Regions from separate parts of the Homo sapiens genome. Here region 1 is linked to region 2. The links are contacts of gene promoters, found by promoter capture Hi-C in blood cells and fetal thymus (Javierre and others, 2016). All regions are on one chromosome and are shown on one strand. The core of a region is centred on a gene start or on the middle of the fragment in contact, and the rest is flanking DNA. Distances in the headings are between cores, read along the strand shown.

Region 1 (7,136 bases), core at 1,456-3,955, 85 kb after region 2:
TGTGATGAGCAAGAAAATCCTTAATTTAAAAAAAAGAAAAGCATGATGCTCACTTCTGGCAGCAGCTAGGAGAGAACCAGGAGTCCATCCCCCAGCAGCTTGCCACGGGGGTGGGGGTTGGGGGAGAAACTGGAGCGAGAGAGTGGGTGGTGGCAGTTTTGAAGAGGAAAGGGAAGCCAGCTAAGTCCCAGGACCTGAAGCAAGAAAGAAATGAGGGCGCAGGAAGAGGCCAGATAAGGGAGGCACCCAGCTTCCTCAGGGTCCTTTGATGAGGCAGTGGGCCGCCTTAGTACTTGGACACACAATTTCGTGACAACCGGACGTCTCTGCTTTCTCTAGAACACAACCTGCCTTCTCCCTACCCCACCATCTAAGTGGTCTGAATGTGCACCATGAGGCTGGCTGAACTGGGCACCCATGGTCAACACGCTGCCTCCCCAGTTGGGGGTTTCGCGACTCTCTGGTAGTCTCAGAGAAGCGTGGGAGAGCAGCCAAACGGTCTCCATGCCCCCTGAGAGGGGCTTAGGAATTAGTTGAGAAAGATGACTGATCCAGGAGTCTGGTGGTCACAATAAAAGGACACAGGCACAGGAAACACTGAGTCCAGGGGTCACAGACTCTTCATGACATATTGCATCTTGGTGGAGGCCACACAGGAGAGGGACAGTAGCAAATCTGAGGCCTTCTCTCATACCTAACATGCCCAACAGAGGTGCTACCCAGGAAGTGATGGAGAAAATGATGAACAGTTAGTTTAAAAATGAAAAAACAAAACAAAAATGGAGAAAACATATAAGGGATTGAATTTCTCTAGAAATGCTAGGATTTCATTTTCTGTCATCAGGTGTATTAAGCTGGGTAAGAGGAAAAATAAAGTATTTCCTGCACCGGGCTTCCTGGCTGGGGTGCGGGCATATAAGCAAAGAGCAGAGATTTTTCCTGCTTGGCAGGGCTGGAAGGCACCCTAGGGCCTTGTTATTCCAGGGGTAGTCCAAGGACTAGCAAGCAGCATGGCCATCACCTGGGATCTTCTCAAGAAACTCAGTCTCAAGCCTCAACCTAGACCTTCAGAAACAGAACTTGCATGTTATGATCTCAAGGTGATTTGTGTGCACATTAACACTGGAGAAGCGTTGCCTTAAGGGACAATTCAGGTTTCAAATTACTATCTTTTCTTATGAAAAATCTTTACATAGCATGTAAAGGCAGAGCTGCTTAGTTCTGATGTTGGTTTATTCTGTGTGAGGCCTTGGTCAAGTTCACCAGCAAGATAAACAAGATCCAGAGTATCTAGTAATGTACTTGATGTCAATGAAGAAAGGCTGATCCTTGTGACTGTGGTGGGCATCAGCTGCCCAGGAGCCAGCCCACCCTGACCAACAGCGTGCAGGGTGAGCAAGGCTAGGGAGGCCACACAGCCAGCATACTTGGGAACCACATGAGCCCTACCCAAAAGTGATACAAGAGCTTATCAGTGTTTCACCCAGTCAGAGAAACGCTGGCTGCCAGGCCAGGCTGGGAACTAGGGCTCTTTTCCCAACTATCACCAAGGTAAGTTTTCACAGCCTGGATGTCTCTGGCATCCTTAGGAATGTATTTCACCATTTTCTTTCATGATTCTTAAGAGTGCAGCTAACTTTGAGAACACTGCCACTATTAAGATGACCACTATGTAGCTCTGCTTAATGGCGCCTAGGCCAAGCCGCCCACACCTCAGTCCTGGGGTCTAAGTCCTGAGTCATAAAGAGCCCACCATGGAGACAAGGGCGTTGACCACTGCATGTCAGACAGTTGGTCAAGCTTCCTTTCTGATGGCCAGAGGCAAATTCATAAGCCCAATCAATTCTGCTACTAAGGAAACACCCACAGTCCACTCCTTGTCCCACCAACCCCTGTCCTCTCTGATCACAGGCGAGGGCTCTGCTTTCCCTGTATCCTGCCACATCCACCAAGGGCTCTAGTTTGCCTCCAAGGAGGGGCAGCTGCAAAGACCACAGACACCTCAATTTACATAAAATTATCTCACTCCATTTTATTTAAGATTTTTTTATCCAGTTAGTAAAAGGAAGATGTGTCTCTCTTTATACATATGTACAAGTTCAGTTATAAAAATAGCACATTCAAAGAGAAAAGGCTTGGCATTTTTCTGATTCCCTCTAAATAGCATCTGTACACAGGAATCTGGGTTTGAGCAGGGGAATCTTAATGATTTAAATTAAATGATTCCCCTATACCCCCTACTCCAAAAAAGTTTTAAAAATCAATCTATCGAAACTCAATTCCGCGATTTTCAGGTGTGCAAATCAGAGGCTTGCCCGCCCGGAGGTACCTGCTCCACCAGGGACATCAGGCAGGGACAGGCAGAAACACCTCCCATGCAAACACTGCCCCTCTGTCTCTACTGGAGGGCAGCAAGCTCAGGCTGGCCGGGCTGGGAGGGCCGGTGCCGAGCCTGCCCCCTCTCTCCGCCCTCTTCACCTCACTCCTGCTGTCCCTTCCTCTCTCAGTGCAATATAGACAGTGCATACAGCCAAGCAGGGGACTGAAGGGCATGAGCAGGGAGACTGTGCATTCAGGATGGGCAAAGGGGACTCTGCAAGAGGGGCAGTGAGGCTGTCCTGCTGATTGAGGTGGCTCCTGGTCTCTCTACTGGCTTCTGGGAGTCCCCTGGGTGGAAGGTGCTACGGTTGCTGGTAGGATCTGAAGGTTCTCTTGGTGTGAACCATGCAGGATGGGAGGAATTGCTGGGAACACAACTGCCTGTGGATAGACTTCCTCTAGCCTCTACCATGCTTAGCGGCCTCCACCATCTCTCGCAGTCACTGCTCTCTCCAATGATGACACTCTGGGGTTCAGAGACCTGGGGAGCTGCCTGAAGACTGTGGACAACAGGTATACAATCTCCCTTACTAGCCCTATGAGAAATCACACTCTTAAGAGAAATCTCTACCATGGAAGGCTCTTCACAGCACCTGCGGAGACTTTGCAAGGGACGTGTCAGAGCCGAAGAGTGGAATCGGGATGGAAACAGTATGCCTGAGCATCTAAAGGGGGTCTGTGTCAGGCTTGCCCCGTGAGAGGTTTAAGACTTGGCTATACAGTTCACTTGAGATGCAGTGGGGCTGATCCATGCCCTGTGGCCTTCCTCCTACAGGCACCCCAGATGCTCCTGATGAGACACAGATGATAAAAGTGCTCACACCATCCACCTGCCTGTCCTTCCCCTGCTGGACATTTCCACTTCTGACTCAGGATGCAAGATGCTGCACGGGGCAAGCCATCCAAAGACCACTGGCAGGTCAGGACTCTAGCCCTGGTTTGGTTGAAGGAAGTCGGAGGGCCCAGATGGTTACCGTCCTCCAGAGGGGTTGGTGCCTTTGCCCTGTTTCCGGACCAGAGAGTCTGGGGCTAGGCTGCTGGTCATGTGGAGGTTCTTGGGATTCCCAGGAACATTATTTCCCTTGCTCAAAGGGGAACTCAAAGGAGAAGAGGCGCTTGAAGGTCCAAAGTCAGCAAGGCCAGCAGGCCGAACAAGGGATGTCTGCAGAGGACTGCTGGCGGAGATTCCTGTGGGGACGGAGAGAGACAAGAACGTAAGCACCAGTCCCGCGTAAGCTTCCTTGGAGCCTGTGGCCTTGGTTACCAGAGTCTGAGCTGGAGGAGAAGTGGTGGGCAATTCCTCCCTGCCACTCCTTGCTAACAACTTCTTGGCATGTTTGCTTGCTCTTCCTGTCAACTGTCTTTTCAGTAAGAGGAATAGATTTTTAAGAGAAAATGATACCTACCCAACCCTCTCTATACTACTTCATCCACAGATGGTAAAATGTTCATCTTGACACTCTAGATAGAGCACACATTTTACAATCTGAGACACCAAAGTTACAGGATGAGAGCTGTAACTTACTAGGCACAAACAGGTTTTTCCTTTCTTCTTTCTTGGAACATCAAGTTTGATAAGATGTTTCCTTTTCAATTTCATGCTCCTGCTACTCTCCAGTAAGTCGGGCCAGAGGGTACAAGGCTGCCCACTCTCTATCCTGTGTCTATATTCATACAGTTCTCCTTGCGCTGGCAATGGCCACCCCTGCTCTCCAAGGCCTGTGTCACTTCAAGGGCACAGCTCAAATCCCCCATCTTGAGTGATGACTCCCTGGGCAACAGTGAACTTCCCTTTTTCCTACATAAGCCAAATCCACTTACATGTGATAACACATTGATTCTTCAATTGTTTCATATGTACTGGTTTTACTTTCCAAAAAAGAATTCTAAGTGCTTGATGGGCAGACATGTCTCTCTCCTCATCCACAGTGGAACCACGGGTACTCTCTGAACCACTCCTTTCCCTTGATTTCCATTTCCAGTTGCCAAGCACTGTTGGTTTTTCTTGTGCTGCTCTACCCCCTCTATCTCCCTCACCCTTTCTGCCCTCTACACAGTGCAGGTTCTGAGGAGAAACCCTGATGAGTATATGCAATGCCCCAGCCATGGGTGAGACCCTGCCACGGCAGCCTGGACTACTGGCATGACTGTTGTTTTCCAAGGATGTGGTAAGTTGGCAAAGGGCTAAGAAACACTGGGCGAGGCTATTATACTTCATATTTCCTCTATCATACTTCATATTTCCTGGAAGAACCAATAAATGAAAGCTGAGATTTCTGCAGTAAGAGAAAAGGCAAGTAAACTAACAATTACTGAGCAATTACTACACTCCAAGCACTTTCTATACTAGTATGCCTTTACTTGCTACAACTATGAGCTCATACTAAGCCCACGTATTGAATGGGAAGAAAGGTCTGTAAGTGGCTCTCTCTTTCTCACCACACTCAAATGTCCTGTACTTTATAGCTACAATCATCCTTCACATATCACGGTCACAACAGCCACTTTTTTCCTCAAACTGTCTGCAGCCCCTTGTCACACATCTGCTAAGCTCCTGCCCAGCAGGCCTCGCCATGTGTTTACAACCTTGACTCCTACTGCTCCTCTTCCATGGAACCTAAGCTGCTCAGTGACCCCCAGTATGCCTTGGCCACTGCCAGCTCTCTGTCACCAGTCCAAATCCTTCCTCATTCTTCTCCTCCCTTTTGAATACAGACAGGCAACTTATCAGCAGGACCATGGTTCCCTCTCCTCCTGACCTACAACTGCTGTGGCTGCCTTCTTTTCATTCCCCTGTATTTTGCCGTGGATTGCTGTTAAGAGTACTGCATGCATGGCTTCCCCTTCTCATTGCTATTATACACTCAGGAGCAAGGTCCATGTGGAATACTCCTTTTTACGTTTTTTAGTTTTTGAGAGAGTCTTGCTCTGTCACCCATGCTGGAGTGCAGTGACCTGATCTCAGTGCACTGAAACCTCCACCTCCAGGGTTCAGTCAATTCTCGTGCCTCAGCCTCCCAAGTAGCTGGGACTACAGGCGTGAGCCACCACGCCCATCTAATTTTTTGTGTTTTTTGGTAGAGACAGGGTTTCCTCATGTTGGCCAGGCTGGTCTCGAACTCCTGGCCTCAAGTGATCTGCCTGCCTCAGTCTCCCAAAGTGTTGGGATTACAGGTGTGAGCCACTGTGCCTGGCCCATGTGGTATACGCCTATGCATGCAGCAGGTGCCTCATATCTAGGTGATAAATCACACAGCTGAATGAACGTTAACTATGCTAATTTGGATTACTAAAATGTGGATCTCAGAAATGAAAGCCTAGGAAGAAAACAAATCCCCAAAGCAAGAAAAATTCAGAATGTTTAAAGTAGTACAGTTCACAATTCAGCTCTCCCTTTTTACAACTACTTCCAATCCACAGACAGCCCTGTACCGTCAGGAGGGCAAGGGGTGAGTCAACAGTGCTTATTACAAAGAAGAAGAACCCCAATTGGGGCTCTAGGAAGAAAGCTCCCGGCTTCAGGGTTTCCTACATGTTCTACCTGACTGACAGAATTTCTAGACTGTCTCTGACCAGAACAAAGTCTGCAGCCACCCTGGGCTTCTGTACCTTTAGACACGTTGTACCCGTATGCGGCATAGGCAGCTGCAGAGGCCGCTGCAGCCCCGGCTTTGGCTCCTGCCATTGCAGCAGCACTGCCTGCCGTGGACTTTCGGCTCCGGCCCTTCCCTGCTCCTTTGGCTGTGCTTCCTGAACCTTTGGGGCGGCCTCGGCTTCGGGCTGAGTGACCACGTCCTGCAGCTGGCATTTCCTGAATGGAAATTCCTGTGGGAACAAATGGGCCAAAAGGGAAAGAAAAAAAAAAAAAGTCAATCTCCAAGATGTTAACATCACCTTCTCCTGACAGGGAAAGCGAGCTCTTAGGGCATTTGTTTTAGGACCCATGAGGAGGTCTATGTCTCCACTTAATGATGGCTAGACCACTGAGTCACACAGAATACTAAGAATTCTAAACAATGAAAACATCCTAACTCCTCAAGCTGCTTTTCATTCTGAAGAGCAGTTACATTACTCCTGAGTTTCCTCTTTAAATTTGTCCATTACAAAGGGAAGCGACTTGCTACCTGGGACTCATCTGCACACTCTAATGTGCTCTTGCCTTGGAGAGTCAAATTTTACCCTCGAGTTTTGAACCCAGAGCTCCCCAAGAAATGGCAGCAACACTAGACCCCACACAGCAAAGTGAGGAAAGGCCCAGAAAAGCTAACATTAATTAAAAATCAGCAAAAATAATGGTGAATCTGAAAGTCGGGGATGACTAGAAAAGTTTTAAATCTTTATAAAGTTACTTATTTTGCTTTCCCTAAACCTCGTTTTCTCATTTCACTTGACAAAGCTATTGAAAGAATAAAAATACCATTATCCTAGAAGGAATCAGGACCTTACCCACAACCAAACCAGTGCTGGGCAGTGGACCAGGCCCAAGCTGTACAAGACAGCAGCAATTACCATTCACGGTATCTGAGACGGAGCCTGTTATGGATGCGGGAGAGTTGGTAGCTCGAGACTGAGGGGCTGAGGAGGCTGGGTCATCCACAATGACCAGCATGTCACTGCTGCTCTCGTCCAGGGGAATGGAGCCAGTGTGCAGCTCACTGCTGATGGAGATCTAGAAGAGGAAGGGTTAAGATCATTACGACCCCCTGTGCTCACCGCCCATGGCCTTGCACCCAGCTAGGAACATGCTTCACAGTTGA
Region 2 (6,666 bases), core at 3,531-6,030:
GCTCAAGACCAGCCTGGCCAACATGGTGAAACCCATCTCTACTAAAAATACAAAAATCATTTGGGCATGGTGGCGCATGCCTGTAATCCCAGCTACTCAGGAGGCTGAGGCAAGAGAATCGCTTGAACCTGGGAAGTGGAAGTTGCAGTGAGCCGCATCAAGCTACTGCACTCCAGGCTGGGTGACAGAGCGAGACTCTGTCTCAAAACAAAACAAAACAAAAAAAGGCTGCAGTGAGCCATGATTGAGCCAGTGCACTACAGCCTGGGCTACAGAGTGAGACCCCGTCTAAAAAGAAAGAAAGAAAAAAAAAACACTAAGGAAATTTGAATAGAGTATGAACTTTAGTTAATAATAATATGTCAATATTGGTTCATTAATTTTAACAATGGCACCATACTAATGTAAGATATTCATACTAAAGGAGACTGCACATGAGGTATATAGGAACTCTCTGATCTATCTTCTCAATTTTTCTGTAAATTTTTATTTTATTTATTTATTTTTTTGAGACAGAGTCTCACTCTGTCGCCCAGGCTGGAGTGCAGTAGCACGATCTTGGCTCACTGCAAGCTCCGCCTCCCGGGTTCACGCCATTCTCCTGCCTCAGCCTCCCGAGTAGCTGGGACTACAGGCGCCCACCACCACGCCCAGGTAATTTTTTTTGTATTTTTAGTAGAGACAGGGTTTCACCATGTTAGACAGCATGGTCTCGATCTCCTGACCTTGTGATCCGCCCGCTTCGGCCTCCCAAAGTGCTGGGATTACAGGCATGAGCCACTGCGCCCGGCCTGTAAATTTTAAATTATTTCAAACAGAAAATCTTTTTTTTTTTTTTTTTAATAGAGACAAGTTCTCACTATGTTGCCCAGGCTGGTCTTGAACTCCTGGACTCAAGTGATCCTCCTGCCTCAGCCTCCCAAACTGCTGGGATTATAGGTGTGAGCCACTGCACCCAACCAGAAAATTTATTTTTAATTAAGTCAATTAAATCATTCCTTTTAATCTTGGTCTTAACTAAGTCAACAATTACTACTGGTAGTTAACTTGTATAGAGCATTTTGTATTGAGGCACAGCTTTGGGTGATTTGCATAATATGCTATTATACTCACAATACTCACCTTACAAATATAGAAACTGAGACATGAGAGAGCTCATTCATGCAACTTTTAACAACTGTTTATGAGTGAGTTAGTGAGTGTCCTGGAAGAGTGTGCCCATGGTCTGGGCTCCTCCACGGAGTGCCCTGCAGTTGTCTCATGTGCCACTGTCCAGGTTGAGCTCAATCAAGTGACCCCACCCCTCTTCACCGGGATCCTCCTCCTTGACCATTATGTCACTGCCACCATCTGCCAGGTCTCCCCAGGAGTCATCCTGCACTCTTCTGTCACTTCTCAAATCTAACTTGACACCAAGTCCTGGGGGCCCTTCTTCGGAAAGTTCTCCCCAGCCTATGTTCTTTCTCCTGTTTGGGTCCTCACTGCTTCTCCTTTGCCTCTGCTCGGGTCTCATCTGCTCTGAGGGGATCTCCACCTAAGCCACCACCCATTTTTCCAGAACCCACATCATATACTCTCTCAACCCCAACCAAAACCTTCCCATGGCGCATTGAATAACTTTGCAACCTGGCCACAGCCCGCCTCATTCCCTCCACTCCCTAGCACTCCACCGTTGTACCCCAAAATCACACTGCTTGCAGGCCATTGCTGTTTTCTTTTCCTTTCCTTTCCTTTTTCCTTCCTTCTTTCCTTTCTGTTTTTCTTTTTTTGAGGCAGAGTCTCACTCTGTCACCCAGGCTGTAGTGTAGTGGCACAACCTTGGTTCACTGCAACCTCTGCCTCCCAGGTTGAAGCGATTCTCCTGCCTTAGCCTCCCGAGTAGCTGGGACCACAGGCATGCACCACCACACCTGGCTAGTTTTTGTATTTTTAATAGAGATGGGGTTTTGCCACGTTGGCTAGGCTGGTCTCAAACTACTGGACTCAAGTGATCCTCCCACCTTAGCCTCCCAAAGTGCTGGAATTACAGGTGTGAGCCACCGTGCTCAGCCCTGCTCTTGGTTTTCTTGAGGACTGCATAATACCTTCTCTTTTTGCCCTTAGAGGTCCTACATGCTCTTCAAGTCTTAGGTCAAATTCAACTGCTTTCTTACACAGATCCTCTCTCTCATTGGCTTAGCAGTCACCTGTTACCTGTCTCATGGTAACTGCTACAATGACTCTGAGGACTAGAGGCTGGTGCGTATGTCTCTAGCTGTGAGTTCCCTAAGGCACCTCTGTATCTTCATGCTCAGAAATCACTGGGTTATTTCCTGCAGTTTCTATCAAAGCAAAATGTCCACACTGCATCATTAGGGGCCCCCAAGTGGCCAGAATAAGAAAAGCCAGCTGGGCGCAGTGGCTCGCACCTGTAATCCCAGCTACTGGGAAGGCTGAGACAGGAGAATGGTTTGAGCCCAGGTGTTTAGATGAGCTATGATCACATCACTGCACTCCAGCCTGGGTGACAGAGCAAGATCCCATCTCTAAAAAGAGTTCTGAGGGATCCAGAGAGGCTTCAGGAAGGAGGAGGACTTGAGAGAGACTGTCAGATGAAAGTCACATTTAGAGTTTATTAAGCACATGCTCCATGTTGGGCATTATACTATAGCAGTGAGCTTTCACGTGGATCCCTCATTTACTTCTCAGCACAGACCTACTAGGTAGGTATTTGTCTCTGTAGATGAGGAAACTGAAGCTAAGAGCATCAACTGTGCAGTGTCACAGCTAGCAAGTGGCTGGGCAGGGATAAGAGATACAGCTTGCCCTTGGAGATCATACATGCACTTCAAGTCTTGGGTCAAATTCAGCTGCTTTCATACAGGAATCCTCTCTTTTGATGCCCTAGCAGTCATCCCTTACCTGTCTCATTGCAACTGCCACACTTGATTCTGTGGCTCTCAAAGAATCCAAAGTCCAGCCTAAGAACTGAAGAATGAGTAGGTGGAAATGCACTGTGGTAATCAACGCATAAGGGAGACTGTACTGAGTCTGCCACAAACAGGGTCCACCCAGGCCTATCCCATACATCCCGGAGAGCCATGGAGCCCAACAATGGGGTGCTGGGGTCCCTGAGGCTGTAGCTGGAAGTACTCTGTGTCCCTAAGGCAGCACTCCTATGCTGACCTCCAACTGCTAATGGGCTCTGTGCAGCAGGGACAACCCTCTGCACAGTCCAGACCTGAGGGCAGATGGCAGGTGACCTGGGGGTGAAGTGTTATGTATGGAGCAGGGCAGCTCCCTGTCTGGGATCACTTTTCTTAGAGGAAGCCTCCTGCCTATTGTCCTGCTCCTGCACTTCCCTCCTGGGACCTGGCAACCTCAGGTGGGAAGGCTGCATTGAGGCTGCAGGCTTGGTCAAGAGAAGCAGGACCCTGGTGCGAAGGGAAATGAGCCTGGACAGCATACTTGTCACCTGCCCCAGGACTAGTGCCCCTCCAAGCCAGAGAGCCCAGATAGCCCTCAGTGGGGCTGGTGAGAGTCACAGTTCTCCGCACGTGGCCAGGAAGTTGAGCAAGAGTAACCCAACCACATAAGGTATGGTGCAAACCTGGAAACTTCTGAGAGCAAAGGGATGCTCTTAGTTGTTAGGCGGGGGCCGCCCAGCAGAGCCAGGACGGTGGCGACCCTAGTCCAGAGCCTTCCACTTTAGCAAGGTAGAATCCAAGGGCCCCAGAAGGGAACAGACTCCATCTGGGTCGCCTAAGCAGGTGAGAGAGGAAAACCCAACCACAGTCGCGCCCCAGCCCTCGCAGGTCCCTGGCTGAGGACTCCCCTCTCCACCTCAGGCTGGGCGGCCCCCGCCTTCACGCTTGCTCCCACTTGTCCCTCGTTCTTGCTAGGCTTGGCAGGTATTTGTTCCCTGCTCCTTCACGCTCTCAGTGCCGTGGCCACGTCGCTGGGTACGCCCCACCAGGCAAGAGACATTTTCCGTCTTGTTCTCTGCCACGTCCCCAGAGCCTGGAACAGTGCTTGGCACAGAGTGGACGCTCATTCGTGGAGTAAGTGCCTGATGGATAATCCATCACTTGCTTTTCTAGTATGAATGGTCTATTTACGGGTCCAGCGCCCCTGCTGGCTTACGACCTTTTCCAGGGCGGGGAGGGGCTGTCCTCATCTCTGTGACCCCAGCGCCCAGCCCAAGGCCTGGCACAGAGTAAGTGCTCAACCACATTTTGGTGAATGAGTGAATGGAAGCGGCCCAGCAACCCTGAGCCAAGGAGCCACTGTGGGGCAGGTCAGGGCGGTTCCTGGCACAGGGCTTCCCACTAGCCTGGCCACCAGCTCTGCGGTCTCCTGGAAGCTGGGGGGCCTTTGGGTAAGGGAGAAGAGTGGCCAGGAGTTGTCTGCGTGTGCCCTGTGACGGTGGGATAGAGACAGCGATTGGATTGAGGAACGGGAGGTTCCCCGAGGCTGTTTAGAGAGGCGGGAGCGGGAGCTGGTCAGGGAGGCTGGACAGACCACCCGAGGGAGCGGAGCTTGGGCACGAAAGCCAAAACTGGGCGGCGCGGGGCGGGTGGGGAAGGCCGGCTGAGAAAGCCGGGATTGCCTCCTGGTGTCAAAGCTCGGAACTGCAGCAGGATCCTGGGGGCGGGGCTTGTGTTCAGCAGCACTCGCCACGCGCCCAGCCCTCAGCCCTCGTCTCGCCTTCTGCTGGCTGGCCCGGCGACGTTGTGCGCCAGCGTACGCGGGGCTCTGAGAACCCGGAAGTTACGTTTTAGGCCCGCGTCACGGGGGCGGGAGTCAGCTGAGCTGCCGGGGCGAGGTTGGGATCACCTGGCACCGGCTGAAGGGAGCCTGTGATTTTTTTGTAGCGGGGGCGGGGAGTAAGGTGCAAGACTGCGCCAGATTCAAGGACGAGGGCTGCCCGATTATCTCGCTGCATAAGGCAAGAGCAAGAGGATCCTCAGGATTTTAAAGAGGAGGCGACGGCTGCAGGTTCCCAGGATCTGTCAGAGGCTGGGGAGTTACAGCTTCCATTCTGGGGCGACGGGGACCCCGGGGGGGTAGCCCTTTTGTAATCCCCAGGCCCCGGACAAAGAGCCCAGAGGCCGGGCACCATGGCGTCCATCCTGGATGAGTACGAGAACTCGCTGTCCCGCTCGGCCGTCTTGCAGCCCGGCTGCCCTAGCGTGGGCATCCCCCACTCGGGTAAGGAAGAGGAGGGTGCCGCTGCCCCTTTCGGCTCTCCTAGCATTTGCGTGGGAGCAGCGAGGAGGGCAGCTCCAAGAGCTCGGGGTCATCCCCTGGGCCGTGCCTTCCGGGTCTAGGCCCCTGATTCTCCTCAGGCTCTCTTGGCCCCCAGCTGGTGGATAGTCGAAGTTTGAAAGAGCAACGGGAGCTGCCGCGTGATCTAGGCTCTACCGCTAGGGTCCTTTTGAGAGGGAATTGGGGCCCAGATAAGGAATTACTCACCTACAGGGCGCAGTTGGGCTGTTGGGAGAACTTAGAATGGGCTCCCGGCTTCTGCTGATGCTTTTCCCACCAGGCCCCTTCTGGAGGTGGGAGGGAAGGAATGGACAAAGAAAGTGGTGAAGGCGGAGTATTGCAGAGGAAGAAGGGAGGGTCCCAGAGGGAATTTTGTCGCTGAACGGGGAAAATGGAGATGAAATCTTTTTGGCCTTGGCTATAGCTGGGTGCAGCCTGGAGTTTGGGGACGTTTTTGTAGAAAGTAGTGAGTCTCCAGGAGAATGAGGGCATAGGGAGCCCTGGGGAACTGTTCCAGTGAGTGGAGTTAACGAATTGGAGCTGCTTTCACTCTAGTCTTTACCTTCATTCAATGCTCAAAATATCCCAGCACTTGCCAACTCTACACTGAGGCTCATTACCGCATGGGCAGGGAGGGGGGCAGAGAATGGGGCTATACTACTTCAGTTAAGCTGGGATTGCTGGGCCAAAGACCTGATAAGGGAGAATACCCAGACCACCAGTCCCGTCCCACCTCCACGCAGCCCCATTACCAGTGGGAGCAGGTATATCATGCTGTGACAGCATCTTAAGGGTTCAAAGAATCAACCCCTCACTGCTGTCAGAGTGTGGAAAGAGCTCCAGACCTCTATTGTAAAGGTGACCAGCAAACGACTTGATATCAAACTATTTGTTAACCAAGGTCCTGGGGATAGGAATATGTCAGGAAAGTGGCGAGGAGCACTGTGGTGTTTTTTCTGCCTCTCCTTGCCCTTCACCTGTCTCTTCCACAGCTAATCTTCTTGTCATTCCTTACCTGTAGGGTATGTGAATGCCCAGCTGGAGAAGGAAGTGCCCATCTTCACAAAGCAGCGCATTGACTTCACCCCTTCCGAGCGCATTACCAGTCTTGTCGTCTCCAGCAATCAGCTGTGCATGAGCCTGGGCAAGGATACACTGCTCCGGTAATCAAGAGCTCACAGAGCTTAGGAGTAGGGACTAGAGAGGTGTTTGGGGACTGTTAACTCACTGGGCCTTTCTTCTATTCCAGGCAAGTAAAGCAGTGAATTTGGAGTTTTCAGGAAATATCCTATCCCTTTCCAAAGAGAACCAATACAGGGTAGTGGTTAAGTATCTGGCCTGGCAGGGCATGGTGGCTCACACCTATCATCTCAGCACTTCGGGAGGCCAAGACAAGAGGATCACATGAAATCAGCAGTT

Evidence for each region. The method cuts DNA at HindIII sites, captures the fragments that hold promoters and counts their contacts. A CHiCAGO score of 5 or more calls a contact.
Region 1: a contact is called between a fragment that was not itself captured here and the fragment with the promoter of VPS18 in region 2, in 1 of 17 cell types (erythroblasts). The highest score is 5.4, in erythroblasts.

What each region holds. Positions count from the first base shown.
Region 1 is chr15:40,976,874-40,984,009 of GRCh38, forward strand. It overlaps INO80 (INO80 complex ATPase subunit), which reads right to left. Exons shown (of 36, transcript NM_017553.3): 34 at 6,889-7,048; 35 at 5,989-6,204; 36 at 2,007-3,567. The coding sequence ends at 3,350. LOC124903476 (a long non-coding RNA gene) reads left to right here and starts at 3,504. Exons shown (of 3, transcript XR_007064602.1): 1 at 3,504-3,593; 2 at 4,437-4,547. RefSeq lists an enhancer at 1-215. The HindIII fragment of the contact is 1,815 bases long and covers 1,799-3,613 here.
Region 2 is chr15:40,889,670-40,896,335 of GRCh38, forward strand. VPS18 (VPS18 core subunit of CORVET and HOPS complexes) reads left to right here and starts at 4,781. Exons shown (of 5, transcript NM_020857.3): 1 at 4,781-5,190; 2 at 6,269-6,410. The coding sequence starts at 5,100. RefSeq lists silencers at 1,008-1,057, 2,326-2,375, 4,497-4,666 and an enhancer at 5,507-5,596. The HindIII fragment of the contact is 16,460 bases long and covers 1-6,666 here.